3 separate regions of the Homo sapiens genome follow, and all the other regions are linked to region 3. The links are contacts of gene promoters, found by promoter capture Hi-C in human tissues and cell types (Jung and others, 2019). All regions are on one chromosome and are shown on one strand. Each heading gives the region's core, a stretch centred on a gene start or on the middle of the fragment in contact. The rest is flanking DNA. Distances are from core to core; before and after follow the strand shown.

Region 1 (3,912 bases), core at 715-3,214, 290 kb before region 3:
CAAAAATTTTAAAGATTGACAATAGCTAGTAATGGCAAAAAGTGAAGAAGTTGGATTTTTTATACAATGTTGGTGGGAGAGGAAATTGTTTCCACATTTTTGGAGGCAACTTGGCAGAATTTATCAAAATAATTACTGAAATTTAAAATGGTCCTACACTATTAGCCATAAGTCCTAATAGCAGGAATTTATGCCAAAAAAATTTAGCACCAGTAACAAAATAGAAGAAATGTGTGTTCATTGGTTATAAATGTGACATCTAAAAATGAATTATGGAATTTTATGGGTACTGTAAGCCAAAAATAAAATTCTAAGCACCCCGAACCAACTAAATGGGCCCCTCCTCTCGACCAAGGGCATTCTAAAGTAAACTTGAAACACTAGTTCAGGCCATGATGAGAATGGGTGGTCAGACATGCCTCCTTAAACCTTCCTCCCTTTGGAATTCAGGCACAGCTGACCAGCATTAACATTAAAACAGTCTTATACCTTAAGACAGGCAGCACAGATTCTTGGTAGCAATAAGATAACAATATGCAGACCAAGATAGCAGGCCCTGAAAGAAACCGAGTATTTTGCTCCAAAATATATTGCTTTGACATATTTTGAAATGGCCCTGCAAAGCTGTCTCTTTAAGTCTGATGTTCTCTCTGAAGCCTGCTACCTGAAGACTTCATCTGCATAATAAGAACCTCAGTCTCCACAACCCATCTGAACCCAGACACTCCCTTTTATTAATTCCGGGGCTTTAGATAAACTCTCGGCCAATTGCTAATCAGAAAATCTTTGAATTCACCTTTGACACGGAAGCCCTTCTTCGTCCCCACCCTCCTCAATGCCTCCACCCTCAACCGCCTCCCTGCTTTGAGTTGTCCCGCCTTTCCAGATCAAACCAAGGCACATCTTACATGTACTGGTTGATGTCTTATGTCTCCCTAAAATGTATAAAAACAAGCTGTAGCCTGACCACCTTGGGCATATGTCATCAGGATCTCCTGGGGCTGTGTCACAGGCCGTGGTCACTCACATTTGGCTCAGAATAAATCTCTTCAATTATTCTACAGTTTGACTCTTTCTGTTGACAGTATTGACATGGGAAGATTTTAAAAATCAAGTTGCAGACAATTCATATAACGCTTTCTTTTTTGTAAAACAAAAGTTATATGTGTGAATATGAATGAATATATACATATATAGTATAAGCATCCTAGGCTGGGCAAGGTGGCTCACACCTATAATCCCAGCTACTCAGGAGGCTGAGACAGGAGAATTACTTGAACCCAGGAGGCGGAGATTGCAGTGAGCCAAGATCATGCCACTGCACTCCAGCCTGGGCGACCGAGCGAGACTCCGTCTCAAAAAAAAAAAAAAAAAAAAAAATATATATATATATATATATATATATGTTTAACTAACAATGTTGACTGCTACAGAATGGAATTGGCTGGCAGGACTTTTCATGTTTTACTTTATACACTTCTGTACTGGCTAAAATTTTACAGTGAATGTGGATTTTCATAATTAAAAATATTAAAAACAAAAAAGTTTTCCAAAATTGATTCTAACTTTGGTTTACACCTGTGATGTCAGTTTCGGGAATGAGGCCCCTCAGACAGGAATCAGGTCTGCTCACCTTGTTTTGTAGGGATCCTGAACAAACATACGCCAAAATTGGCAAAGCAGGCGGACGCAAAGAGCATTGGCAGAATGTCTCCCGCCCCTCCTCCAAGCCTCAGGGCTGCGTAATGGCAAGTGCAAATTCAAAATAAGTGGCTTGTTTTTCTCTGCTGAAAATAAAGGAAGAAACTTCTCCCTCTTCCCTTTCCTTACACATTTACCTCAAAAAATATATGAGTTCTTTCTCTGTCTCTTTGAACTATAAATAAAACTTTTTAAATGTTAACTAATCCTCTGAACAGCATTACAACCCAGGAATGTCTTTCTTAAGGACCTGGGAAATATCTCTTTGAAATCATCAAGGAAGATAGCACCTGTATGTCCCAGTCCTGGTGGGAGGGGAGGAACCTCTTGCTCCTAAACTACCTCCTGTTATAAAGATATGTAAAGTTTATTTTTCCTTGTCATAAAGCCAATTAGATAGAACAGATGATTCACCCCAATTACCAAGTGAACTGAGGACAAACTGTGTGTGACAAGTGGGGTTGTCAAGTCCTTTTACTTGAGGACTAGTTGTTGTTTATCTAGAGAAAATGTATGGAATTAATTTTATTAATATGTCTTTATAAAAGGGTGAAATTTCTTTCCGTCTTTGCAATCTTTTTAGAAAATTGCCTGTGATGAGCATTATATTCTGGTTTAATGCTTATTCAATAATAAAACTGTTTTATTTGTTTTCTTTTTTTATTATTATTATACTTTAAGTTTTAGGGTACATGTGCACAACCTTTGTGGGGCAGTTTTCTGGGCTGGGAATAGATTTTGTTTTTAATTCTATTTCCCAACAGCTACAGAGTGTCAGACCCCCTTGTACACCTTCAGAAGCCAAGGCCACCCCCGGCCCCCTAGGTTCTGCCAGCTGCATCCTGGAGAAACTCTCTGGAGCTACTGGGAGAGTAAATGGAGGCCACAGGCAGATGCAGGCTGTGGATGCCACAGATATATTAAAGAATAAAAATCATGTCATAGACTAGAGAGGTCTGTGACACTTTGACATGCTCCCCCAATCCCCAGACTTTCTGGGACTGGACCACTGGCCATCTCTAAGGCTCTGTTTTCTAAGGAGTTTACAGCAGAAGCTACCTCCCACTTGGTCTTGGAACTAGAATGAGTGTAGAATTGGGAGCAAGTACAGACAGCTAAGGCAAAGTGTGCAAGCAGATGAACTTTTCCCTCATGCCCCTTTCCCTGTATCTGAACCCATTACCCTTTCCTGATGCTCACTGCCCCTCAGGGGGTCCTCCTAGTGCCTGCAGGCTTCTTCCTCCTTTCTAAGGGGCTGGACTGCTTTATTTAGTGGGAATACTCCAACCCAAATCCAAGCTAAAATTTACATTTTCAAAAAGGACTTTTGATAACTGCACATATTTTCACTTTATTTAGTAAATACTTACTGAGCATATCTGGTATGTGAAACACTGATGTAGGTTTCTGGGAGAAAGGGTAGGAGACCCCCAAATTAATATCAACCAATCTTCTGCACTGAAGGGGATTTGCTATTTCTTGGGGAAGATGTTACAGGTAGTCAGGCATGAGTGGGGCAGGAGAGGGCTATCCTCCACCAACTAGGAATGTCAGGTGATGGTTCAGGATTTGTCACATTGCCTCTCTAAAAGTGATAAATTGGCAGCCAGGGAGACGCCATTATCCTGAGGGTCCACACCTGTTGCACTGAAGTGTTAATTGAATACAGATGCCAGGAAGAAGCATCTTTTTGGGCATGCATATTAAGAGACAAAATGGCGGAGTATGACCTTCCAGGGGCACTCCACCGGAAAAGGGAAGAAAGCCTCAGTTGGGCGTGGGTACAACTTCCTAAACACAATGTGTGTGCTCACTTCCCAAGGGTAAGGGGGGCACTGCACGTGCAGGCAGCACACCCTAAGGGAAGAATCATGGGAAAGGGGCCAGCCTATAGAGTCCTAGGATCAAGGTTAAACACTGCACTTTACCTCGGTGCCCACTTGGATCTCTTCCAAGCATACTTTCCTTTCTTTGCTGTTCTAAAGCCTTTTTAAATAAACTTCCACCCCTGCTCTGAAACTTCCCATGGTCTCTTTTTCCATCTTATGCCCCTCAGTCAAATTCTTTCTTCTGAGGAGACAAGGATTGAGGTTGCTGCAGACCCGTATGGATTCGCCTCTGGTAGCCTGGATGCCTTCCACTGCTAACATATTTGGTGCTGTGAGACTCAAATATTTGCCACCCCTAACAAAGACAGACAAACAAACACAT
Region 2 (3,808 bases), core at 589-3,088, 400 kb before region 3:
ATCAACCTTTGGGGATGGGACTACGCTCACTGTGAAGCCAAGTAAGTTGTGTTCTTCTTTGCCTAGGCCTTCAGGGGCAATCAATCAAACCATTAGTTTGAAAAAGACTTTAATCCTATGCATCTGGTTGGGCTCTTTATTAATGTTCTTTCCCCAGGCCAAAGAGAGTTGGTTCTCTTCCCTGCTTTAAAATGAGATATGAGTGCATGTATGCACACACGCATGCCCACATGCAGACTCTTGCTCTAGCTCATGGTAAGGGCTTCTCAGGAGCATATACAACATTTTGAAAGAAATAGAGAAACAAACAATAATGAGCCAATGGAGCTGTCAGGAAGGTTCTCCACCACCCCTGACCAGGCTTCCCAGCAGGATCTCTGGCCATATAGGATGTGCTTGCACTATATCGGATGGTCTAGGATGGGAAATATCTCTCTGTAATTAATTCCAAAATTTGGCAACCCTTATTGCCAGAAAGTACTTCTCATATCTAAGTTTGATCTCCCTGCTGCGATTTAAATATCTACTTGAAAAGAACCACTAGAACTCTGTACATCTGGATTGAGAATCAAGTAACTGCCATAGAATATGAGGCTGAGCACTAAGCCCACCTCTGCAGCACCTCTGACGTGTCATGGGTCCCCTCTGGACATTTTGAGCTCAAGTAATAATGGATTAAGCAGGATAGCACAAGCTTTGGAAACAGAAAAACCTGAATTCAAGTCCTTGCTCCACTACTTACCTAGCTGTGTGACCTTGAACAAGTTACTTAATCTCTCTGAGCCTCAGTTTCCCCATCCACAAAATGAAGATAAAAATATTCCTACCTCGTTGAGTCATCGTAAAGATGAAATAATACAGCTAAAGTAGTTAGCATAGTGCTCAGAACATAGAAAAAGCTCATTAAACCCTCGCTATTAATAATAATGATAAACATCATCTCTAACCCACAGCAGAGCCTTTGTTTGGCCCCTGGGGCTCTTCTGTCAAGGTTCTGTTGTGCATCAGCAGCAGAGCTGGAATTGGGGGGAGGGTGGAGAATGTCAGCCTGTTCTATGAAATTCTTCACCTGGGATTTGAAAGTGGAAATACAAAGAATCCTGACTAATTTAAATACAAAATCATCCAAGTGTCAGAGGCAGGGGAGAGGTTTCTGCAGAGAGCTGCATAGCTGGGATCCTCAAGGCTACACACACACGCTTGGAGCAGGGATGCGGTTCACAGGATGGCAGGGCAAAGGTTGCAGAACTGAAACCTTGTACTTCCCCATCACCAAAATGACCCCAGCATGATTTCCTTTAAGGTGTCCCGAGCCCCTTCCCAAAAGACAGGCTCCCCATGTGGAGGGGCAATGACAGAGGGAAGATGGAAACTTTATGGGAAGGGCGATCTATCCCAAGGTTGTCCTTCTCCTCTTCAGGGTAGTGAAGCTCATGAGAAATATGGCTCCTGAAAATAGCCACTAAATGAAACTCTCCAACCTGGAGGTAGAGGATCAGTAAAGTCTGCAGAGGCAAAATGAGGCAGTTTATTTCAAAGAAAAGAGGTTGAGGGCAAGGTGGGAGTTAAGTCACACATCTAAATCTGGGAAAGGAAGCATTAAACAGAAGACGGAGGGGCTCGGCTCTCCACCTCCACCAGGATTCAGACCACAGGACATGGCTAATACTGCAAGAAGGGAGTTAGGTTAGTGGTAAAACCTTTCTAATAGGTTTTTGAACAGTGAAAATGAGCTGTCAGGAGTAGTTGCCAGGGCACTTTCTCTAGAGAGTTTTTGAAAGGAGATAGACACCCTGCTATCAGAGGTGATTGGAGTGCAGCCCTGCCTCGAGGCAGGAGGAGAAATGAGAGAACCTCTTAAAGCCTCTTTCCAGCCCCCAGAGCCTGTCTCCATGAAAAAGGCCCAGGCTCATTAATGCAGAGCTGCATCCTCCAGGACACAGGGGGTTGCTGGGTTGTTAAGTTTGGAACCTTTGCCGGCTTAGTGGTTACCAAACTCCCTTTGTTCTCAAGACTTGACTTGATAAATGGGCTGGCTTTATCCCTTTAAAGCCAAAAACACAGGTTCTGAGTGCTGTGTTGTTTGTGGTGTTGAGATGCCCAGGCTGGAGGGAGGAAGCTCTAGGGGGTTTTTGCTGAGCCCAGAAACACTGTGGGGATAACTATGGTCAGAATTTTGTCTTTGGTCCCGGAACCAGATTGTCCGTGCTGCCCTGTAAGTACAGTTAAGTGGAGATAGAAAATGAGTCCAGTGCTTGATGTGGGGAGAAGCTGCAGGGTCTTGAGGCCAGGAGTCCACCGTGACCTCAGGAGTGGTGATGGAGAAGAAGGTTAAAAAAGGAATGAGAAACAGAACCATAAGGACAATACAGAGGAAGGGTTCATTTTCGGGAAGGAAAATCACAAGGCCGTGTGATTAACGCTGGAGGAAATGCACTCCTTTGGAGGGTCCCTTCTCAGGAGGGCTTTGTGTCGGGGAAAGCTGAGCTGTTAGGTTTTTGATGCTGAGATAATCACTATGCAGAAGGACAAGGCTTCTCCTTTATCTTTGGGAAGGGGACAAGGCTGCTTGTCAAGCCAAGTAAGTGACATATAATTTATATGTGCTGAATATGATTATCTCCAAGAGGAAAACTTGCCCTCTTTTCCACGGGTGCCTCCTTGGGTCAGGAGGACATTAAAGGTGTTGAGCAGACCAAGGCCCAGTACCTCGTCACCTTCTTCATCCTTGAAGGAGCTTTAAGAGGTGTGGAGGGGAAGAAACCCACCAGGACCCCACCAATAAGCCCAGCCTTGAGACCCCTCCACTCTGTCAGACTTGAATAAGAACCATCTGAGAACAAGGTCTTCCTCAGAAGGGGACTCCAGCATAGTCATCCCCATTTGATAGATTTTGAAACTCAGGGCGGGGCAGAGTGGCTCATGCCTGTAATCCCAGCACTTTGGGAAGCTGAGGCAGGTGGATCACTTGAAGGTCAGGAGTTCGAGACCTGCCTGGCCAACATGGTGAAAGCCCGTCTCTACTAAAAATAAAAAAAATTAGCTGGGTGTGGTGGCACGCACCTGTAATCCCAGCTACTCAGAAGGCTGAGGCAGGAGAATCGCTTGAACCCGGGAGGCGGAGGTTGCAGTGAGCCAAGATCATGCCATTGCACTCCAGCCTGGGCAACAAAAGCGAAACTTCATCTCAAACAAACAAACAAGCTCAGGCAAGTAGAGGCCAGTGATTAACACTCTTCCAATAGGAACAGATCCCAAGCAACCTGCAGTAGTTTTTCCAGTAGGCTCGTGAACTCAAAACACCAAGTTATTTAAATGACAGGGCAACCGTTGTGATCAGCTGTCATTTGAGTAGTGCTGAGGACTGGGTCTGACCTTGAGTAAACGCCTAGGCTGGTGGGTTTCTATCCCTGCAGCATCTAAAGCGGACGCCCAGGCTTCACTGACCCCAGCAGTCTGGCTTTCTGCCCTTGCCGCCCAGGAGGTGCAGCTCTTGGCACACACCATCCTTAGTGTCTTGAAAGAAGAGAAATTAAAAGAGAAAGGGGGAAAAGCTTATATCTCATATCATGCAGTTGCCTCATTTTGTAGCAAGATTGTTTCCCCATGAGCAGTTTGTCTTCATTCAGCAGCTGTCTTCTCTGGGGAAGCCATTTTGTAGAGGTGTTTGTCACAGTGTGACAACTGACAGCTGGGGGAAATTCCAGTTTGGAGCAGGGACCCAGGTTGTGGTCACCCCAGGTAAGCCCCATTCCCTGGAGCCTCACCTGCCCTTAGTATTTGGCATGCCCTGCATGCCAAATATTTC
Region 3 (3,923 bases), core at 505-3,004:
CGTAAAAAGTTTTCACTCAGAAACAAATATATCCGTTTAAGCAAAGCCATATACAACACAATATTTTGAAACTTGCAATCTCACTGGGTTTAGTGTCTTTCTAGATGTGCTAAAAGCAATAAGGTAGCAAACACTATGCATTTTCAGGCTGGTAGTTTTTTCTTTTTTCTTCTTTTTTGTTTTTTTTTTGTATTTTTAGTAGAGACGGGGTTTCGCCGTGTTAGCCAGGATGGTCGCGATCTCCTGACCTCGTGATCCGCCCGCCTCGGCCACCCAAAGTGCTGGGATTACAGGCGTGAGCCACTGCACCCGGCCCAGGTTGGTAGTTTTCAAACGCTCTCTTCATGTCCCAACTTATGGGTCAAGGTCCACTCAATCTCATCCACATAGAGTATGTTTTCTTCCATCCTGCTCCAAAAACAGTATTAGAGACCCACAATCACGTCAGTTCCTAGACCTCGTCATAGCACAAGCCAACAGATAGACCCCACTGCTAAAGGAGCAGAGAGAACCACTGTCAGACCAATTCGGGAAGAATTCACGAAAAGCTGGAGCCCCAGGGGTGATGGTAGCGCCATCCCCAGGGTCTGATCACTTAGCTGGGCACAAACACCTACAAACTGAAGGCAGCTTAACAAAAGAGGAACAATGAGAACGATAAAAGCTACTTGAAGGACCACCCTCCCCATGTTGTGTAGCTTTAAAAAATGGTCCTATAGGCCGGGCGCGGTGGCTCACGCCTGTAATCCCAGCACTTTGGGAGGCCGAGGCGGGTGGATCACCTGAGGTCAGGAGTTCGAGGTCAGCCTGGCTAACATGGCAAAACCCCATCTCTATTAAAAATACAAAAATTAGCCGGGCGTTGTGGCAGGCGCCTGTAATCCCAGCTACTCGGGAGGCTGAGGCAGGGGAATCGCTAGAACCCGGGAGACAGGATGCAGTGAGCCGAGATCGCGCCACTCCACTCCAGCCTGGGTGACAAAGCGACACTCCGCCTTAAAAAAATAAAAAAAAAGAGGTCCTATAGGCAACCAACTGGCACAATCTCTGCGGGAGCCAGTGTCCCAGGGCTCAATCTTCATATGTGGCATCATAATACGCCTACTGGAATGAGTGCTTGAAAAAGTTAAATGGGAAAAGCCCATAAAGGTCAACATAGTGAACATGAATCTTCGACAGACTAGAGATTGAGGAAGAAAGCTCAATTCCCTTCTCTCTCTCTGAATGGTGGTGCGAGTGGCTGAAACTGATGATGCGTGTCCTCTCAGGCCGCGGAGGGTCGATGCTCCCTCTCCAGTGTGGGCGACCCTAAGTGTCACGGCTGCAGAGACCCGGAAAGAAAAATCACAGGATTCTAGAAACCGCATCTTTATCGGTGCAAGATACAGCCACGAGGGTGCCCAACTCTAAAATCGTGGCAGTGGGCTACATTTAAGTAGCTAACACTTCCAGGTCAAAACAAACAAAGGTTTTTTTAATGTTAAAAGTTCGCCTGAATCTCTTCGTGACGCCATTTTCTGCCCGTGACGTCAGGGGGGAGGCGCCGTGCAGCAACGTCACGCATTGGTGACGTCTGGTGGGGACCGGGTTTTGGGGTTTCTCACCAGTTCCGGGTCCCCGCAGGGGGGTCCCGGTTCTCTCCGTTCCTTTGAGTATGTTGTGGGGAGTGGAGCTCGGATAGTTCCTAGAGTCTAGGCAAGAAAAGCAGCACTGCAGGTACAGAGCCTCCTCTTCCCGCAAAATGGCGGCAGCTCTGCCGTCTTCCAGAACCTTCCCCAATCTGCGCATGCGCCAAGACTCCCCGGCTTTGGAAATAACCTCACTGGTTTCGCGGCAACCGTCCAAAGTACAGGTTCTCATTGGCTAAAGTCCTAAGTATGGGTGGAGCAAACTCAAATGCGTCTTAGCAACCACCGAGTTCCCATTGATTGGCTAACCTCAGAGACTCCAGAAAATGGAAGCGTCCTTTGGTAGCCGCCCATCACTCTCTCATTGGTTAAATGACTTGCGGAGGGCGGGGAAAACGGGACTGAAAACGGGAGTGAAGAAGCCACCAACCCCACTCCTGGTGCTCGCGTAGACTAGACCAGTGCGATGGGCGGAGCCAACGAGGAGGCACAATTTACATCCTTGGCCGTCCCTACTCGGATTTGCTGAAGGAGTCACGTCGGTCGTTAAGGTTAAGCTTTGTAGAGAACAGCGGCGTTTGTTTAACGTCCGGGGATGCTGAACTCGAAATCCCCGTTCTGAGCCGGCTACCTAAACAACCTTCCCGACCACCTCTCCTGACCTCGGTGCTTGGGACCAGGGAAAAGCAGATCTTGCCACAGACTTGTCTTGGCCCACACTCTGCCCTATCGTCATGGCCTGCTCCCACAGGTCATAACTTCCGTTCAAATCAGTACCCCCACATTTCCCACTGCAAGGGTAAATTTGAAAGTTTCTCAGGTGACTCCTTGGATGTAGCAGTACTGAGTCCTCTAACCGGAAAGAAGGAACTGATGTCCACCCTCACTTTCCAGGGGCCTCCAGGAGCCCCTAGACACTTCTGTGGTCTACTGTAGCTACCAAAAATGTAGCTGGTTATAACATGGGGAGAGCCAGAGTCGGAGGACCTGACTTCCAATTCTGACTTGGATACTAATATCACATCATTGTACCCATTTCAAACTCCCCCTCTGTAAAATGGAAAATTGGACTAGATGATCTCTTAGGACTTCAAACTGTAACCCTGTGGTTTTATTCAAAAAAAACAGGTAGCTTCTTGCTGGAGATTCCTGGATGGATTCCAGTCTTCCCAAGAGGTAACAAAGGAGAGGTAACCAGTTGCCCGTGCAGTAGCTCAAGAATACAGAAGAGAAACTGGCTTCACTCACTATTCCATCTTTTTCCAAGGTGGCAAACTCTATGCCTCCTCCCCAGAGAAAAGCCTAACTGTAGGTTCTAATGGACAAGAGCTCACTGTAGCTGGTCAGAAAGGCCTATATCCAGGACTACAATAGTCATTGCTCAGCTTCCTAAGTAGGGAATACAACTAGGCCCCTTTGGGTCTTGGATAGGCTAAGAGGACAGATCTGAACATGCCTGGGTCTAAGTGAGGTGTGGGAAAATAGTGGCAGGGGGCAGCATGGTCGTGCAGTAAAGGGCTATAACTTTATTTGTATTTCCTCTTACACAAAACCATCAAAACAAGAACAGAAAAAGGCTGAAAATCCGTTCAAACCCCATGTTCTCAGGGATATTCCAGGGAGTTCTTGAGGCTGAGTGCGTAGCTTCAAATCCAGCACTAATTCCTCACCCCCTGGCCTGAGGTCTTCATAGATTGGTGGCTTGAGCCCTGCAATTAATTATAATCCCTTGCCCACCTTGATGTAAGGCAGGAAAGCAGATTGAAATGCTCCTCTCTGATGGGCAAGGGGAATCACAGCCCATAGATGTACTGCACCTTCTGTACTACAGGAGCAGAACCTGAAGCTGCTTCCAAGGCTCTGGACACTTGGCACGCAGGGCTAGAGGCCAATGGTATATGAGCGGCCTGTGGGGTTATGAATAGCAGAACAGACTGGTGCTGTCACAGCCCACTCATACCACACCTTCTTGGAATTGCTGCATCGCCAGAAACGCACACAGATGGTTTGGCCTTCACGTACCGTTATGGGCTGCTGTAAGAAGAAAGACAGGAAGGTTCAGGGTGAAGCTATGAATTATACATGGCAATGTATTAAGGTAGGTGTGGAGATAAAATGATAAACATGACAAGACTGTCCCAACCCTCATGAAAGTTATTTGAAGCCTATCAGAACACAAATAATCAAAGGTGTGGTGAGAGCTGTGAACATGTACAGAGTCAGAAAAACACCTATGAAAGGGAACACTAACCTAGTCTAGGAGATCAGAGAAAGTTTATCTCACAATAAAAATGT

The links. Contacts are between HindIII fragments. The study calls those that stand out against the background at their distance.
Region 1: a contact is called between a fragment that was not itself captured here and the fragment with the promoter of RBM23 in region 3, in 1 of the 25 tissues and cell types used here (H1 embryonic stem cells).
Region 2: a contact is called between a fragment that was not itself captured here and the fragment with the promoter of RBM23 in region 3, in 1 of the 25 tissues and cell types used here (heart left ventricle).

The regions. Positions count from the first base shown.
Region 1 is chr14:22,625,997-22,629,908 of GRCh38, forward strand. No RefSeq gene overlaps it. Among named protein-coding and RNA genes, the nearest start is that of OR6J1, 16 kb to the right of the region's middle. The HindIII fragment of the contact is 6,013 bases long and covers 1-3,912 here.
Region 2 is chr14:22,516,291-22,520,098 of GRCh38, forward strand. It overlaps TRA, TRAJ27, TRAJ26, TRAJ25 and TRAJ24. Among named protein-coding and RNA genes, the nearest start is that of TRD-AS1, 35 kb to the left of the region's middle. RefSeq lists an enhancer at 1,517-1,626. The HindIII fragment of the contact is 4,026 bases long and covers 1-3,808 here.
Region 3 is chr14:22,917,395-22,921,317 of GRCh38, forward strand. It overlaps RBM23 (RNA binding motif protein 23), which reads right to left and starts at 1,755. Exons shown (of 14, transcript NM_001077351.2): 1 at 1,605-1,755. PRMT5-AS1 (PRMT5 antisense RNA 1) reads left to right here and starts at 2,062. Exons shown (of 2, transcript NR_120600.1): 1 at 2,062-3,726. It overlaps PRMT5 (protein arginine methyltransferase 5), which reads right to left. Exons shown (of 17, transcript NM_006109.5): 17 at 3,135-3,662. The coding sequence ends at 3,510. RefSeq lists enhancers at 1-571, 1,060-1,229, 1,300-1,409, 1,500-1,569 and a silencer at 1,830-2,129. The HindIII fragment of the contact is 12,061 bases long and covers 1-3,923 here.